Linked DNA regions of Homo sapiens: regions 1, 3, 4 and 5 are each linked to region 2. Evidence: promoter capture Hi-C in 16 types of primary human blood cells and fetal thymus (Javierre and others, 2016). All regions are on one chromosome and are shown on one strand. The core of a region is centred on a gene start or on the middle of the fragment in contact, and the rest is flanking DNA. Distances in the headings are between cores, read along the strand shown.

Evidence for each region. Contacts are between HindIII fragments. The CHiCAGO score rates a contact against its expected background, and 5 or more counts as called.
Region 1: a contact is called between a fragment that was not itself captured here and the fragment with the promoter of HMGN3-AS1 in region 2, in 1 of 17 cell types (M2 macrophages). The highest score is 5.5, in M2 macrophages.
Region 3: a contact is called between a fragment that was not itself captured here and the fragment with the promoter of HMGN3-AS1 in region 2, in 1 of 17 cell types (M2 macrophages). The highest score is 5.9, in M2 macrophages.
Region 4: a fragment that was not itself captured here is called in contact with the fragment with the promoter of HMGN3-AS1 in region 2 in 1 of 17 cell types (M2 macrophages); the score reaches 5.8 in M2 macrophages.
Region 5: a contact is called between the fragment with the promoter of BCKDHB here and the fragment with the promoter of HMGN3-AS1 in region 2, in 2 of 17 cell types (naive B cells and fetal thymus). The highest score is 5.4, in naive B cells.

Annotation. Positions count from the first base shown.
Region 1 is chr6:79,872,000-79,875,255 of GRCh38, reverse strand. No RefSeq gene overlaps it. Among named protein-coding and RNA genes, the nearest start is that of LINC01621, 61 kb to the right of the region's middle. The HindIII fragment of the contact is 270 bases long and covers 1,331-1,600 here.
Region 2 is chr6:79,231,443-79,234,933 of GRCh38, reverse strand. HMGN3-AS1 (HMGN3 antisense RNA 1) reads right to left here and starts at 1,260. Exons shown (of 2, transcript NR_040671.1): 1 at 1,007-1,260; 2 at 1-872. It overlaps HMGN3 (high mobility group nucleosomal binding domain 3), which reads left to right and starts at 252. Exons shown (of 7, transcript NM_001201363.2): 1 at 252-388. The coding sequence starts at 374. RefSeq lists enhancers at 134-923, 924-1,714 and a silencer at 927-976. The HindIII fragment of the contact is 3,424 bases long and covers 1-1,556 here.
Region 3 is chr6:79,804,127-79,807,111 of GRCh38, reverse strand. It overlaps LINC01621 (long intergenic non-protein coding RNA 1621), which reads left to right. Exons shown (of 5, transcript NR_131786.1): 4 at 1,064-1,216. Among named protein-coding and RNA genes, the nearest start is that of LINC01621, 6.6 kb to the left of the region's middle. RefSeq lists an enhancer at 1-640. The HindIII fragment of the contact is 169 bases long and covers 1,312-1,480 here.
Region 4 is chr6:79,784,254-79,787,328 of GRCh38, reverse strand. No RefSeq gene overlaps it. Among named protein-coding and RNA genes, the nearest start is that of LINC01621, 26 kb to the left of the region's middle. The HindIII fragment of the contact is 197 bases long and covers 1,495-1,691 here.
Region 5 is chr6:80,104,985-80,108,012 of GRCh38, reverse strand. BCKDHB (branched chain keto acid dehydrogenase E1 subunit beta) reads right to left here and starts at 1,342. Exons shown (of 10, transcript NM_183050.4): 1 at 1,124-1,342. The coding sequence starts at 1,319. RefSeq lists enhancers at 1,000-1,079, 1,046-1,546 and silencers at 1,130-1,229, 1,260-1,459. The HindIII fragment of the contact is 20,612 bases long and covers 1-1,825 here.

The DNA of each region.
Region 1 (3,256 bases), core at 216-2,715, 640 kb before region 2:
TTCTTTTTCTCCATGCACCTTTAATTGTGGATCTTCCCAATTCCAGGGGTTCAGCTATCATTTCATTCATTTAACTGGTGTTTTATTCCACTTCGGTTATATGGCTTGGAATCTACTTTGATTTGTTAGACTTGCAGTTAATTAATTTGTTCATTGATTAATTCATTTGTCAAACTTTTAAGACCTTCTACTACGCACCAGACACCAGGTTGAACACAGAAGATACGGAGCTGAATAAGAAATGATTCTTCTCTCAAAAATTTCACAATAATATGCTAATGTTTCCTGTTTCACAAGCTCTGAACTCTTTCCTAAGATCTAGATAAATGAAATTGCCAACTGGATGGTTTGTTTGCTCTTCAAACTAGCATGTCAGAAAAGAGTCTGGCTTTACCCCTCAGCCACCCCTACTCACATTTGTTTTTCACCATTTCTATTAGTGTCCTCAGCACCCCAGCACCAAATTATCTTCCTCCTTTTCTCGTCTTCCCAGCCTTGATTCCTCATCTTTCTCTACACATACCTCACACTTTAGTCAATAGCTCTGTCCTGAGCACACCCAAACTCTTCCCAGTCTTCCAGTATCAAGACTACTTTTAAGATCTGCTTCCTTGCAATGAGTTTCGTGTAAATTAGAATGCACATTGTGACAATATTAACTTTTATTGTCAACTTCTGTTCCTACCGTAAATGCATTTTGTAATGAATCTTCTCTCTATGGCTGTCCATGGAGGATATATTATCATTTTGTTTTACATGTGAAGAAATCAAGTGACTTGCCCATGATTATACTACTGGCAAGGGTCAGGGTCAGAAAAACAGTTTGCCAGTTTCCCAAGTATGAATCCTTTTCAGTGCTTGACGATCGTGAAGCAAGTTCTTAGCTTCTCTCAGCAGCATTTCCCAAAGGGTGTTCCTTGAGATGCTACTTGATGCTATTCAACAAACAAAGAATCCTACAGACAAATGAATTTGGGAAATGATAAGAAATTAAAACCGGCTTCTTTTCTGCTAGTATTCTCTGAATTTTTAACATGCTAATGAAGTGCATTGTGAATATATAATGCATAATATTTTATATAGCACTTTCTGAAGATGACCTAATTACCACAGAACCATTACTTCACAGCCTCTCTCAGACTTGTTTTATTCAGAATAAATCAGAGAAAATGTCTTTTAAAGAAAGGGAGCTTGGGGGTCACAGCACTAGTTCATATTCTCTTAATTTCACTTGACATGAGAAATCTTCACCTTAATATTTCCTGGTTGACCATTCAACAAGCTTGTTATGAATTCAATTACACATCAGTTTCAACCTTTGTCAAAAGCTTTTCTTAGGAGGCTCAAGGAGGTGCCTCACCTTCTGGCAGAGAACTAGTGAGTCTGTGTTTACATTCTCAGGAAAATCATATTATTAATTAATAAGAACTTCTACTTTTTTAACACTGCTAAATTCAAGACACTGGAGCACTTATCTCACTTAATCCTCAAAACTATTCTGGGGAGTAGGTACTAATGTGACCTCTATTTCACAAATGGGAAAGCAAAGGCTCAGTAGTACATGCAAGTAAGCCTATGACCACCATAATAGTGATAAGCTTAAGGCTCATCACCAAGTCTCTCTGATCAGAGCCCGTGCTTTTAGCCTTATATTCTTATATCCTGACTCATTATCAACATATTTAAAAATAGGTGAATGTGATTGAATGATAGAAAAAGAATGTACCAGGAGACAGCCATGTCTGTATCCACCTCATGATATTTATAGCTCCTAGCACAGTGCTTAGCATGTAGGAGGTGTTTAAGAAATCTCTGTTGAACAGAAATTAAGTTGAATGACAGTATGGAGCCTTATAAGGGAGGTATATAGAAACAAGAGAACACACTTTGAAAAAGAGCATCAATTAAACAACATAGTATCTTCATTGTGAACATGTGAAGAAAAATCACATCACTCTTTGGAATGACTGGAATGATTCTGAGAGCTACTTGTTTCACCAGGGTCATAGTTTCCCTGTTGGCTTATTGAGCTAGAGAACAAGATGCTGCAGCTAAGCTGTCATCATCGCCTCTCTTTGTTGTTGCTCTTTTATTACATGTTTCAGTTGCAGCAGCAGGGATGAATCAGGCATACTTACACAATCTTGAGTTTCCTGAAGGAGAATTGCCTGTTAGTCGTATATCAACTACTCACCTGCCCAACCAGTGAAGATTTAACCTTAGATATTGGAGCATGTGCACATGTCAGAAATGTAGACAGAGGATAAGTAAAGAAATAAAAAGAACATGTAAAATCATCTTCTAAGTAACTTATTCAGCTACAACCGAGAAAAATTACAAATGTTATGATCGTGTCTGCAAAAGGAAGTGGATAGGTGTATTTAGATGAGTTTCTTACACTGAGATAAGTAAGATAAGTTAAAGATAATGAAATTTATATGCTGGGGTGATGACTAAAGAAGGAAATCTTAATTACCCAAAAGAGTATGGATGGTATAAATCAACAAGGAGGGATAGAATTGGAAGGCCTAAGAGTTAAATAATTAGGAAAAACAACATATGATAAGAGAGAAAGGAGGAAATATCTAGTCAAACAACTTGAAACCGTCCTTGTTTGGTCTTAATATTAATCCTATTCAGTTGACTCTCTGATTCAGCAAGATGGGGCTCAAAGTTGAAGAGGTAACACAGCCTCTCTACCTCCTTTCAGTGTTCTGGATTTCTCATGAGTCAGTTGATGATACTCAGAGTGTGGTGCTGACACCATTCCCATTCACGTGTCCATTAAAGTAAACACCAGTGTGCACAGTGATCATTTTCACTGTGGGAACATCTGTAATCTGTTTTATTTTTATGTATTGACCTTAGTTTACCCAGACTCTTTATTCACAGGATTCAGAAGGTGTATCACACTAAAGTTAATGAAACCAAGCAGCTCTTATTCCCCCTTCTTCATAGCTCCTAGCATAGCATGAAACATGGTAAGCACTTAAAAAATGCTTGTTCAGAGAATGAGTAGAGGATCTAAATGACTGAAAGAACATAGAGTTAAAACAACCACTATTACATTTTGGTTCCAAAATTTTTCTTTTCATGAGATTAACTGTTCTTTGTACGGTCTGAGGTTCTTACCCCACATAACCTTTTATAATCCAATATAAAGTGGAATTACCAGATTTAAGGAGTTTACATCTCCACTGGGGCTATGTTATAAGCTGCCAAATGCCAGTGAAATGGCATAGAAAACACCATCAGA
Region 2 (3,491 bases), core at 11-2,510:
CAATGAAACTTCAGGATTGTGTGGCCTGGAGGCTACTAGTTGAACTGGGCATGCTCAGTCGCCAGGCAGATTTTTTTCGGTGAAGTGGAAACTACAACAGCGCGTACCGCGCGCGGAGGTGGGCGTGCCCTCGTGGAATTTAGAACGTTGCCTCAGCCAATGGGGCCTCGCGGCCGGCTGGCGGGGCTCCTCATTGGAGCAGCAGGGAGGCGAGCAGAGGGCCCCCAGAGGGAGCCGCGGAGGTGCAGGTCGAAGAGGCCGGGCTACGTCGTGCCCTGCGCGTGAGCAGCTGCAGAGGCAGAGGCAGCATCCAGCGGCGGCGCCAGCAGTTCCAGTCCGTTGCTTTACTTTTTGCTTCACCGACATAGTCATTATGCCGAAGAGAAAGGTAAGTCTTACCAAAAAAAGATTTCAAAAGCCTTCAAATTCTGCTTACAGTAAATGCTGGCATTGCAATGGCTCGCGCAGAACGCGCGCGGTAGTAACCCGGGGATTGGGAATCTTTGCTCCTCCACGCTTGTTTTTAGATGCCTGTTGCAGACGTTCCTCTCTCTGTCCCCCCTACCCACTCCGTCCTCATCGATCTCTTAATGTTACTTTCTCTCCAGTGACGCGGTTTCCCTTCTTTTTGAACTCATTCTCGCTGGAATGTTTTCCACCCCCAACAACAAGAAGCAAAAGCGGCTTTCCATTCCGAAAGGGAGTTTCCTCTTTGCAAACTGCCAGGTTGCGAATTAGTGTGAAGGGAAAACAGCGAGAGGAGAAAAACAAGTACAAGCGTAAGGAGAGGGAAGAAAATAAATCAGGCAAATGTTGGGATTATTCCCATGCGGCTGTACTCGCGGGCTGGGTGCGCTGCGGTGGCTCCTAGGCTAAGGGAAAGAGAAAGCCATGTTTAAAATAGCGCTCACCCTCCTGCTCGCCTCCGCTGCAGACCCGTATGTACCAACTCCAGTGTCAATCAGGGCTGGGGCCGGCGAGGCGGGGCCTGGCGGCCTGGACCTACCCGCAGTTCGGGGCGGGAGCGGTGGAGTTGGCAGCGTGGAAGACGGGACGGCGCCGGGGCGTCCAATATGGCTCGTCCAAGGTCAGGGGGCCACCAGGTCCTCCCCAGCGACTGGAACCCACACTCGGTTGGGGAAGGCGGGGTCCGCGCGCTATCCGCCCCTCTGCGCGTCTAGCGAACTGGAGTCATTTTTGTCTTGTCTTCCGCCCCTTGCGGACTGTCCTCTTCTGCGCAGGCCCCGGACACCAACTACTACATTCAGGGACACAAATCTCCCTCGGGGTGGGGCTTCGACTTGTCCCGGGGAGGGAAGGGAAAGGTTTCCTCCTCCCTGAGAAATCAGTGAGGATTTCTCAGCTGGTTCCTAAGCAAGTGCTTTGCACCCTCCCACCGCCAGCCTCAGTGTTTCCAACAGTGTCAACGAGTGTGGGTATTAAATTTGAAGCAAAATTACACCTAATGTCTTGCTTTATCAAAGACCATGGACTAATTTGTGTGTGAGAGTGACTGCATTATTTTAAAATACTGAAGTTTTAAAAATTCAAAAGCTTTCCCCTTCTTATATGTTATTACTAAAAATTGGGTAGAAACTTGTCTCCTACCCCACTTTTTAAAAATAATTGAAAGTGTTTAAAAGTCTTAGAGTTTGTTGTGCACATACTGTGTCCCTCACGCTGTGCAGAATTTGACTTGCATTATCTCATTTAATCCTGAAAACAGCTTGAGCGGTGTTACCCCCATTCAGCTGGGACTTAAAGACATAAATTGTCCTGCATCTCACCAACCAATAACTACTAGTAAAGATTTAATCAGATGCTATAGATGCCAAAGTCTTATTCTCACCCATTTCGTACTCACTTACGAAAGGGTGGGTCAAGAGGAATTAAGGAAATCCAAAGGTACTCCCAGTTTAAGAAGACAGATGGCATATTAAGAGCACTAATACTTGAGATTTATTATTTAAACTTAATTTTATGAAGGTATTTTCTAGCCCTGTTTTACTAGAATTAGGATATTAAGTGATGTCACCATTTTCAGCATTTTGACTGAGGGTTAATGATGGATTGGAAATTCTAGTAGAGACAAAGGAACTAATCATCAAGATACGGGTTACAGAGTAAGTGAGCTGGAGGCCATCTTTTTTTCCTGGGAATTATAACCATTGTTTACATAAACAGTAGGTTAGGTGTGCACACTTTATGTATAATGGACCCTGACGATGGAACCCTTCCTTGCTGTTTATTCAAGGGCCAGAGCTGCTGAAACCATTATTCTTACTTCCCCTGTCTGCCTCTCTCAAGGAGACGGAAGGAAAAAAAAAAAAAACTAAAATAACAGTAAAATTACAGCTACAGTTTTATTTCCCTGGAAGGCAGGGAACCCCCATGCATAAGCTAGCCAATGGTCCTGAGACTAGGGGCAAAACTGTGTACAGGCACCTGTGTGTCATTCCTGAGGACATCAGAGTGTTCTCCGGTGATGGAAAACCTCTCCTTGATTAATAGGAAGGCTTTCCATTTATACCTGAAGCCTAACGACCTCAGTTGGTACCTGGGCAGGAACAACCTCAGATTAAACACGGCGATCATGGCCATCCATCTATCAGTCAAGTCTTAGAGCAGCCTCATGGAATCCTGAAGTTCACTGGAACTTATGTGAGGAACCACTGTCATTAGGTAAAGCCTGCTTAGATACAAAAAAGAACTGGAGACAATCCATGCATAGCTCTTCAAGATCTTCAAAGCTGGGGTAACTGCCAAAGCATTTACATACTACACAATATTTTTCTTGACTAAAGAATTGTCTGCTCTACAATATAATAAGCTTTTAAAATGTCCCCCTAGTACTTTTTTGCCTTCTTAGCCCCCTGTATCAACCTTTCCTAGAAATCAAGAAATGTTATTTAATGAACATCTGAGTAAGTTGTTCTGCAGAGCAAGAAGTGGTACAGATAAAGTCAATGAAAACATCTGGAATCCTAGCCCTGTTGTAATGCTGTAGGGACATACAGTTTTTGCCCTCTTGGAACTTGTGTTTAATTCAATGAGGTGATAAGACTAGCAGCACAAAACAGTTGAATAACATTAAAACTGTGTATGTGTTCCAGAATGTGTAGTTATAGATCCCACAAGCAGTAGGACAGATAAGGAAAGTTAACTTTAGGCTGGTCTTAAAAGTGTGGGTAGGACTCAAATATACAAAGAAGTCAGAGTCATTTTTTGTTACCAGGTATTCAAGTGTGTCTCCTGATTGTATCTTAACATGACCAGGCCTCAGTTTTGCAACTTCAGGGCTATAATATCATCTGAATTAATATTAAAATGTTCTGATGACATTTCTTTGTAAGTTTTATGTGTATCTTTGTGTGTGATAGTCATAACTACATTAAGCCAAGTGGTTTTTTATAAATGCCATAGTATTTTGTGAAGTAATACAGCACTTAGTGAAGAGTTCTTCAGTGCATATTATCTCTAAGTTTGTGAGA
Region 3 (2,985 bases), core at 147-2,646, 570 kb before region 2:
GACTTCAGGAGTGAAATCGCAGACCTTTGCAGTGAGTGTTATAGCTCTTAAAGGTAGTGCAGACCCAAAGAGTGAGCAGCAGCAAGATTTATTGGAAAGAGCAAAAGAACAAAGCCTCCACAGCATGGAAGGGGACCGGAGCGGGTTACCTCTGCTGGCTTGGGTGGCCAGCTTTTATTCCCTTATTTGGCCCCGCCCATGTCCTGCTGATTGGTCCATTTTACAGGGTGCCGATTGGTCCATTTTGCAGAGTGCTGATTGGTCCATTTTACAAAGTGCTGACTGGTGCATTTACAATCCTTTAGCTAGACATGGAGTGCTGATTGGTGCGTTTTTACAGAGTGCTGATTGGTGTATTTACAATCCTTTAGCTAGATAGAGAGCACTGATTGGTGTATTTACAATCTTTTAGCTAGATACAGAGCACTGATTGGTGCATTTTTACAGAGTGCTGATTGGTGCATTTACAATCCTCTAGATAGAAAAGTTCTCCAAGTCCCCATTCGACCCAGGAAGTCCAGCTGGCTTCACCTCTCACCTGGACACATCTGTCCTTTGGCTACCTTTACATCAGTGGTTCTTTCACATTTTGGTCTCAGGGTTTCTTTACATCAAAAATAATTGAGGACCCAAAGAAACTGTGTTTATTTGAGTAATGTTTATCATCTACTACATTAGAAATTAAAATGGGATGAATTTTAAATCATGAGAATGCACAGGCACACATTCCGTTAGCAGTCAATAACATCATCACTCAGCATGGGAAAACCCACGGGTTGCTTGTGAAAGAGTGAAAGGAAAACACGAGGTAACATCATAGTATTATTACAAATTGACCTTGCAGATCTGAAGGGTCTTGGGAACCCCTGGAAATCACACTTTGAGACCACATCTTGAAAACCATTGCTTTATGTTTTTAGCATTTTTTGTTTTATATTGCATTAAATTTTATTAAGCCAACTTACATAAGTTTATAAAATATGAGGTAAACTTTTTTTAAAAAATGAAAAAGGCAAAATACTAGCTATGTAATTGTGCTGTTTATTCCCCACCTGCCCCACAGATATGTGCTCACCCTTCTCTGCTCAGCTCTGTGCCTGGGAGGCTGACCTCTACAAACTGCATCACCAGGCTTCCGCCCTCTGGCTTCCAGATGGATTTGGCCAATGGGCAGCACCAGTGGGAAAGGAGAGGACAGGAGGAGAGACAGGCTGAGGTCATGTATTTATCCCCCTCTTCCCTACCCCATGACAGTTCTGACAGGCAGCCCCTCCGTTTCTCCAGCTCTCAGCTGAGCTCCAGTAACAAGCTTCCTTCTCTTTCCCCTTTAGGGTTGGGGTGGCAAGAGCCACCACCTGGGTGTCTCACTATATCTTGTTGGCTTCCCTAATCCTGCCTACATTAATCATTTTTTTTAAATTTCAAACTCTCTTGATGCTTCCATTTGTTTCCCGAGGAATCCTGGCTAATGGAGCAAGCTTGGACACATTCCTTCATTTCACAGGTCCTCAGTTTATTTAGCTGTAAAATGAAGGGCCTGAGCAGCCTTTCCCAAAGTGGATTCTGCACATCAGTCTCACCATATTCCATTTTGTATTCTGTGGTCAAATATGTTTGGGGAACACTGAATATAATGTCCCCTTTTGGAGAGCCACAATTTGTGGCACCGTGTCAACAACTCTGAGAGGTCCTGAAGTAGATACACCTGTTTTACCCTGTTTAGTTCAGCATTTCCCAAATATAGTTAACAATGGAACCACTGTTTTTTGCTTGTTTGCTTTTGCAGAAAACCCTAATAACATAGAGAAAACACCAGATCAAGTTGGGCCATGTATGGCATTGTCTTATTCTGTGGAAAGGTATTCATTGCATATTTTTGAATATTTTCTGTTGGCCCCTCAATCCTGAAGTCTAAAATTTCCCACCCATGTGGCTCAGCTTGCTCTAGGCACAATAATGGAATTCTATTTCTGTGACCTCAATACAATGTTGAGCTTCTCTTCTGACCATGACTTTGTCGTGGTAAAGAAGTATCCCTCTAATTAAGATCAGGATTGAAAATAGAATTCCAGGAATAGTTGAATACACAATACACATTTACATACAGCACAATTGCATCCAAGCCCCGTGGAGTGTGGTGGTGCAAAGTAAGGTGTGAATCCCACTGAAACTTTCTGAAAGTGTGTGGTTGTCATGAACAACACTGACAAATCTGAGGCCCTCCTTGCTTCCTGTTACAATAAGTAACTACCTTTTCTTCTTTTTCTTTTGGAGACAGATTGGAGTGCAGTGGCATGATCTCAGCTCACCGTAGCCTTGACCTCCCAGGCTCAAGAGATCCTCTCACCTCAGCCTCCTGAGTAGCTGGGACTACAGGCACATACCAAATGCCCAGAAAATTTTTTTCTTGTGAGGGCTGGTGGGTAGAGCCTGGGTCTCTCACTATATTGCCTGGGCTGGTCTTGAACTCCTGGGCTCAAATAATCCTCCTGCCTTGGCCTTCCAAAATGCTGAGATTATAGACGTGAGCCACTGTGCGCAGCCAGTAACTACCATTTTGATCAGATCATTTCTAGAGAAATATATATCCCCTCCTGATTTTCTATTGTCAAAGCCCCAGTATCAGGCACTCATCTCTTTCCAATGTGGCACAAAGCAGGGGGCTTACCCCACTTCCAGGGCTGAATCCTGGCTGAACTAAGCCCATTTGTATGACCCCATTCTCTTTCCAATAATAGGTTTAGGAGTGGGCTTGTGACTCATTTCTAGCCAGTGGGACATGCAAGAGAGGTGGAATGCTGGGAGTTTAGAGGGAGAGTTTTCTCTGTTTCTGAAAATACAAACACCAGAAACCATGCTCCCTTTTTGGCACCCAATGGTATTTTGTTTCTAGATGTGTTACTTAGGAATGTGGCAGCTGTCTTGCCTCCACAGGGAGGACAGCATCAAAATAGAACTGATGCTGAGGACAGCAGAGGAGAGGAC
Region 4 (3,075 bases), core at 344-2,843, 550 kb before region 2:
ATTTGTTCAGTTCTTTACTTGGGATAAAGCAGAAAATGGGAACTGATATATCAAAAAATGCACACTATTTTGTATGCTTTTGATACAAATTGTTGAATTATCCCCTGGGGTTAGCAGCCTCTAAAATGGACCCTAGTGATCCTCCCTCCTGGTATTTATGCCCTCAAATGTATGGATGGAGACCTGCTACCAGTCCCGGCAGGGAGCTGGGAAGTAGAGCTTCCTCTAGATGAGCTTTCAGATGACTGTGGCCCTCACCAACTTCTTGACTGCAGCCTTGCAAAAGACCCTAAGCCCAAGGACACAACTAGGCTACACCCAGATTCCTGACCCACGGAACTTGTGGGACAATAAATGTTTCTTGCTTTCACCTGGCATAAACCTCAGTCCTTATAAGACTACCCTAGCTGTATTTCTCCAAAAGACTAACCTAATTTAGAATCACTTCAGTGGTGGACATATGAGTGCACCTTTCCCACAGACTCAACACTGTGCCTTTTAATCTTTGCCAGACTGTTTGCATGTCTTTTATTATTACCAAAGTATTTATTTTTTATTGAATCCCCCATCCTTAGCCTTTGCCCATTTTCCTATGAGGAATTTGTCTTTTTTCTTACAATTATAAAGAATGTTTTATATATTAGAGTTATTGCAAACTCCCATTCCACCTCACTACATACACATACATGAGTTTTCTATATTTCTACTTTTATTTGATATTTTTGTTGCAATCTTTTCCAATCTGATTGGTACAAATAATAGCTCATATTGTTTTCATTCGCATATCTTTATTCCACATATGAATGTGGTCAAACTTTTACACAGTAGATTTTGTTCTTCCTGTCTTCAATATTATACTTTTAATCCTTCCTTGCTTCTTAAAACACATTTGTATTCTGTTATATTTTCTTCCAGTACTTTTATAATTTATACATTAAAAATCTTAAATATTTCAAGAATATAATTTGGCATAAAGTGTAATGTTCTATTTTAGCTTTTTCTCATGATAATTAACCAGTTGACCTAATACCATTTATTTAATAATTCTCTTTCCAATCATTTTAAGTACTGAGGAATTATAATCTTTTATACTTCACAGAGCAAATTTGCTATTACTCTTTTCTGTGAAACTTTTCTTAGATATTTTCATATATTTATTCTTATAGATCATTTTTAAATTATTTTATAATGGCTCCGATATAGAATTAACATCTTATAAGAGTAACTATTCCTTTCCAGGAGTATAGAATTATCTCCATTTATGCAGTCTGTTCTTTATGTACTACAGCTGAATGTTAGGATTTGCTTTATAAAGATCTTGCACATTTCATTTTTATTTCTTTCTCATGATTTTCTGTTGTTTAAGTTATTATTATTGTGGTGGTGGTGGTTGCTCTGTGGATGGATTTTAAGCTCCACAAGGTGAGGATATAGTCGGTTTTGCTCATCATTATATTCCCAGTATCTCATATTTTCCTTGACTCGCAGAAAGCTTGCCATCTACTTCTGGAATGAATATATGAACAAATAAGGGAGAAAGTAGCCAATATTCCATTATGCTTTCTAACAGGTTATTGATAACATATAGGAAAGCAAAAGGAATAGGAACAAGTGCATATATAATACAACTTTGTTGCACATCTAAAGTATCATTAATAAGTCTATGGCTTGAGGAAAAAATAATTAAAGCTTACATAAAAGGAGAAATCAATACAATCCCTATGAGATGAAGAGTACTTTCAAATCAGAGAAGATAACACAGGAAAAAGTGGACAAAGGACATTAAAAGGTAATTCATAAAAGAAGAAATGCGTATGGGCAATAGTTATATCAGAAGAAAATAAAGATATGCAAACAGCAACAATATGAGCTAGTATTAAATTGGCACAAAAGTAATTGTGGTTTTCCCCATTAAAAGTAATGGCAAAAACTGCAGTTACTTTTGCACCAACCTAATATTTATACCAATCAGTACAAAGATTTTAAAGTTGGATAAAAACTGTTATTGTCATAGATAGAGAAACAGGTAGTTTCCTGTGTTCTCAGCAGATAGGGTTTTAAACTGGGACACCACATACGGAGGGCAATCTAAAAATATATATCAAAATTCAAACTGAGCTAATTAGTTGATGCAGCCATTCCTCTTCCAGTAATTTAATCTTAATTTCATATTCATCTTAATTTAAATCTTTAATCTTAAAATAATTACATAGGAATGTACATCTCAAAGAAATTAAAAAAACTAGCCATTAGGGAAACATCTGCTTGGATAAATCATCTTGTATTGTTTTCATGTGAATCTGTGTCATCATGAAGTTTTCCCTCCTTTCTCTTCTATGCCTTTCTCTTCTTCTCTTCACCTATTTCCCCCCCTTCCTTTGGACACAAATAAAATGAATGTTAATTGCAAACACCAGTAAATAGTAGTTGAGAATGATGAAGAGTTAGTTACTATTTGTATGCCCAGAAATGTAAATTCCTTTAATCATGATACTACTGTTAATAATTCATGTTTATGTTTCTTCTTTTTGTAGGAAAAGTGAATTTACTGTACTGCTTATTATTGTAATTTGTGCACATATGAGATCTCTTCATTCAGAACTTAAGCTAGAACCCAAGCCATGGATTGCCTTGGTGGCAGTGTCCGGACTTATACAGAGCAGGCAGGAAGAAACAAACATCCCTGAATCCAAAACAAGCGTGAAAGCTGTACACATCTCGTGACCTTTTCTGACTTTGAAATTGCAACAGCTGATTTTCTAATGTTTTCCTTTAGCTGTGGCAAGATACCCTGGGAGCTTCAGGAACAGGAGCACTCCCTATTCTATGTGGAATGAGGGATGCTCAAAGGATGAGCCTTACCTTGCCCTGCCTAGAAGAATGATCCTTATCTTGGCTTCCCTAGAGAAGATGCCAACTTAAAAAGTGACTTGATTTGAAATGAATTCAACTCATTTATTCAAGGTAAATAATTAACCAGTCCTACAGAAAGGAACAAACAGCATTGTACCATCCAGTCACTCCTCCCTCACCTCATGCAATGAGTGGCCCTCGGCTGTGGCTCTGCTGCCATCT
Region 5 (3,028 bases), core at 93-2,592, 870 kb before region 2:
TGGTAAGCACTCAATAACTGTTCATTCTTATCCACAAGACACACTTCCAAAAATGTCAGCTCTAGCATGCACATGAGAAGTTATTAGACAAGGAAGCAATACATGTTTCCCTACAGTTTCCTGATATTCTGAAGAGAGACACTGGATCTGATATTCTGATGAGAGACATTACATGAAACTTGCAGAAATGGTAAAAATCATGCAACAGTCATACTATGAGGAGTTTGCTACATGCCCTTCCTATGGCTTCCTCCTCTCATCCCCTTCACCTCCTTGGCTAAGTGGCAGCATAGCCCAGGACAAGCTCAGTACTAAGCTCAAGTAGAAAGTCTGAATTCTTTCACATCTCTAGGAAGGACCTGTTCTGTGACCTTGGGAAAATCAGTTCAATTACTCAGAATTCTGTAGGTAAGAAGAAACCAAGGGACATATATACATATATGCATATATATATGCATATATATGTGTGCATATATATATATGCATATATATATATATGCGCACATATATATGCATATATATGCGCGTATATATATCCACACATATATATATGTGTGTGGATATATACACACACACACACACACACACATACACACAATTTCTGTATGTAAGAAGAAACCAAGGGACTGAGTAACTGAATTGATTTTATATACATATATATATTTTATATATAATATATATAATATACATTTAAAATATATATATATAAACATATATATATATCTTTTAAATGCCTCTACCTAAGCTAGTGGCCCAGTCCTGGCCAGGCTGGAACAACACCTAAGGCCTGGGTTGAGAAAGCAAGGACGGAGGACAGAGAAAAGGGAGGCGTTCCCTGGGCACCACCCCTCCACCCTCAGGCTCTTCCAGGTGGCAGTATGCCCTCTCACCCATCTCAAAGTTGCGGGGGAGGGGGGACTGCGTCTCGAGGGCTGAACAGTCACAAAAATAGAGCAAGAAGTGAACCACAGTTAGACCCTGAGGCAAGGAGGTTCCAGAGAGTCAGGAAGTTAATAAGCTGGGATGCAAGGATTGCAGCCTGCCGGCCCCTGCCCCTCGCGGGCGCCTGCGAGCCTGGGAGTCCGGGCTGCAGCGGGACCGAGTGGGCAGTCCCAGGGCTCACCGTACTCCCGGGGCTCCGGATCTGGCTGGAAAGTAAAATGAGCCACCTGCCGCCTCTGGGCCGCATCCTCGACAGTCGCGGCGGGGTGCAAAAAGCCCCGCGCCAGCCCCGCGCCAGGAAGCCGACGCCAGTGCCCCTCAGCCCCTGCCGCCCTGAGCCTGAGTAGCCAGCCGGCAGCCGCCGCTACAACCGCCATCCCCGCTCACCACCGGGATTCTCAGGCTATGCAGCCGCACGCCGCCTGCGGGGAGGGCGGAGCACCCGAGGAGGCTTCCACATTGGTCGGGCCAGAGGGGCGGTCCCATGAAACAGACCAATCGGAACTGGAAATTTAGGGGCGGGGAAGGCGACGTGACGAGCTGGTCGGCTTCTGCTCCTTGTGCGCATGCGGAAGAGGGGAAGTGTGGGCTAGAGGTGGCGCCAATGAAATAGTTTCTGGGGTGGAGCCTCCCCGAGGTCGGCCGTGCGGTCCTCGGGTGAGGACCCGAGTTTGCAAAGTTCCACACAGTGCCTGGAGGCGATCTTTTCCGGTGTCATTTACAGTGCCATTTCCAATGGTTTAACATCCATACTTTTTTTTAAATGTAACCCTTTTTTATCCTGTCCTGTCTCTATTATTGTGTGAGAGGTGAAGAGAGCTACTGATTGGCATTGGTTATTGTTTTGACTTTCGAAAAACTGCTGTAGTCACTGCTCAAAGCTTTCACTCCTTATTCACACCCTCCTTAAAATGCTTAATAAGCATATATAGATTTTTATTGATTTCGTTTTTCCACATTTAAATGAGAGATGAAAGAGGTAAACTTAGATTTCATCCTGCAAATCCACTGAATAGGAATTCAGATACATTTTGCCCAGAAGTAGCAAAAATTACCTGATTGGCTTAGTCTAAGTAGCTTAGAAACCTGGAGAATTTGAGTCACTAATTTTCATTTATAGTAATCAACTATGTAAATTTGTTTTAATCTAAGTGTTTACCAGGATACATTCTCTGTCCATGAATTTACTAAAAAAAAAAAAAAGCACATAAAACATGAAATATCATAAAATCAAATATGACAAGAGACAACAGAGACAGTGTGTCCATCAGATGAAAATGGGAGGGTGGGGAAGGATGGTCCCAAAACAGAATTTGAAGAAGAAAGTGGGAGTGGAGGAAAAGAACATTCCTCTTCCATTATGCCTTGCCTCTTAACCCATCTTTGGTTTTGCACAGGGGCAAGGGAGGAGAGGGTAGAAATGGGGCAAAAGGAGAGGCAGAGAAATGTGTTTTCTGACTGAGATTAAGAAACAGCAATTGAAAACTGCCAAAGGGAGAACCAGAATTATGTCTCCATTTTTCCTACCCCCACACTAAGTCCAAAAATTCAACATTGGGGAAATTTTTTATCTTGGCTTTTGTTAGTGTTCATTTCTGCTGTTTTAATAGTGTGGGGTAGAGTGTTTTGCATGTGCATGAAGGGTATTTTTGTTTTAATGAAGGAAGGGGTAACAAAATGAAATTACATTTACATAGTCAAATTTGGGTTTAAACTAAGGAGAGTAAAGAACAAGGATAAAAATGAATAGAGCTTTTTTTCTATTTGTTGATAGTTTAGGGAGCTGGGGGTACTGAGATTATTTAGGTCGGGGAGAAAAAGAGAAAAATAATAACTGATGAGAATTTTATTGAACCTCTGCTACGTACAACCCAATGACAAGCCACCATTGAGACAAATAAGATCAAGGCATAGTTTTACTTCTAAAATGTCCAAGGTGGTAGAGAAAAGAGACAGATTAGGCAACTACAATCCAATGTGATAGGAGTCCTAGAATAGTGCAAACAAAGTGAAACACAAAAAGAGCAATAAACTCTTATTTGAAAGTCAAGTGTTTCCAGATATAACTCTGAGCTAGACCTAAAAG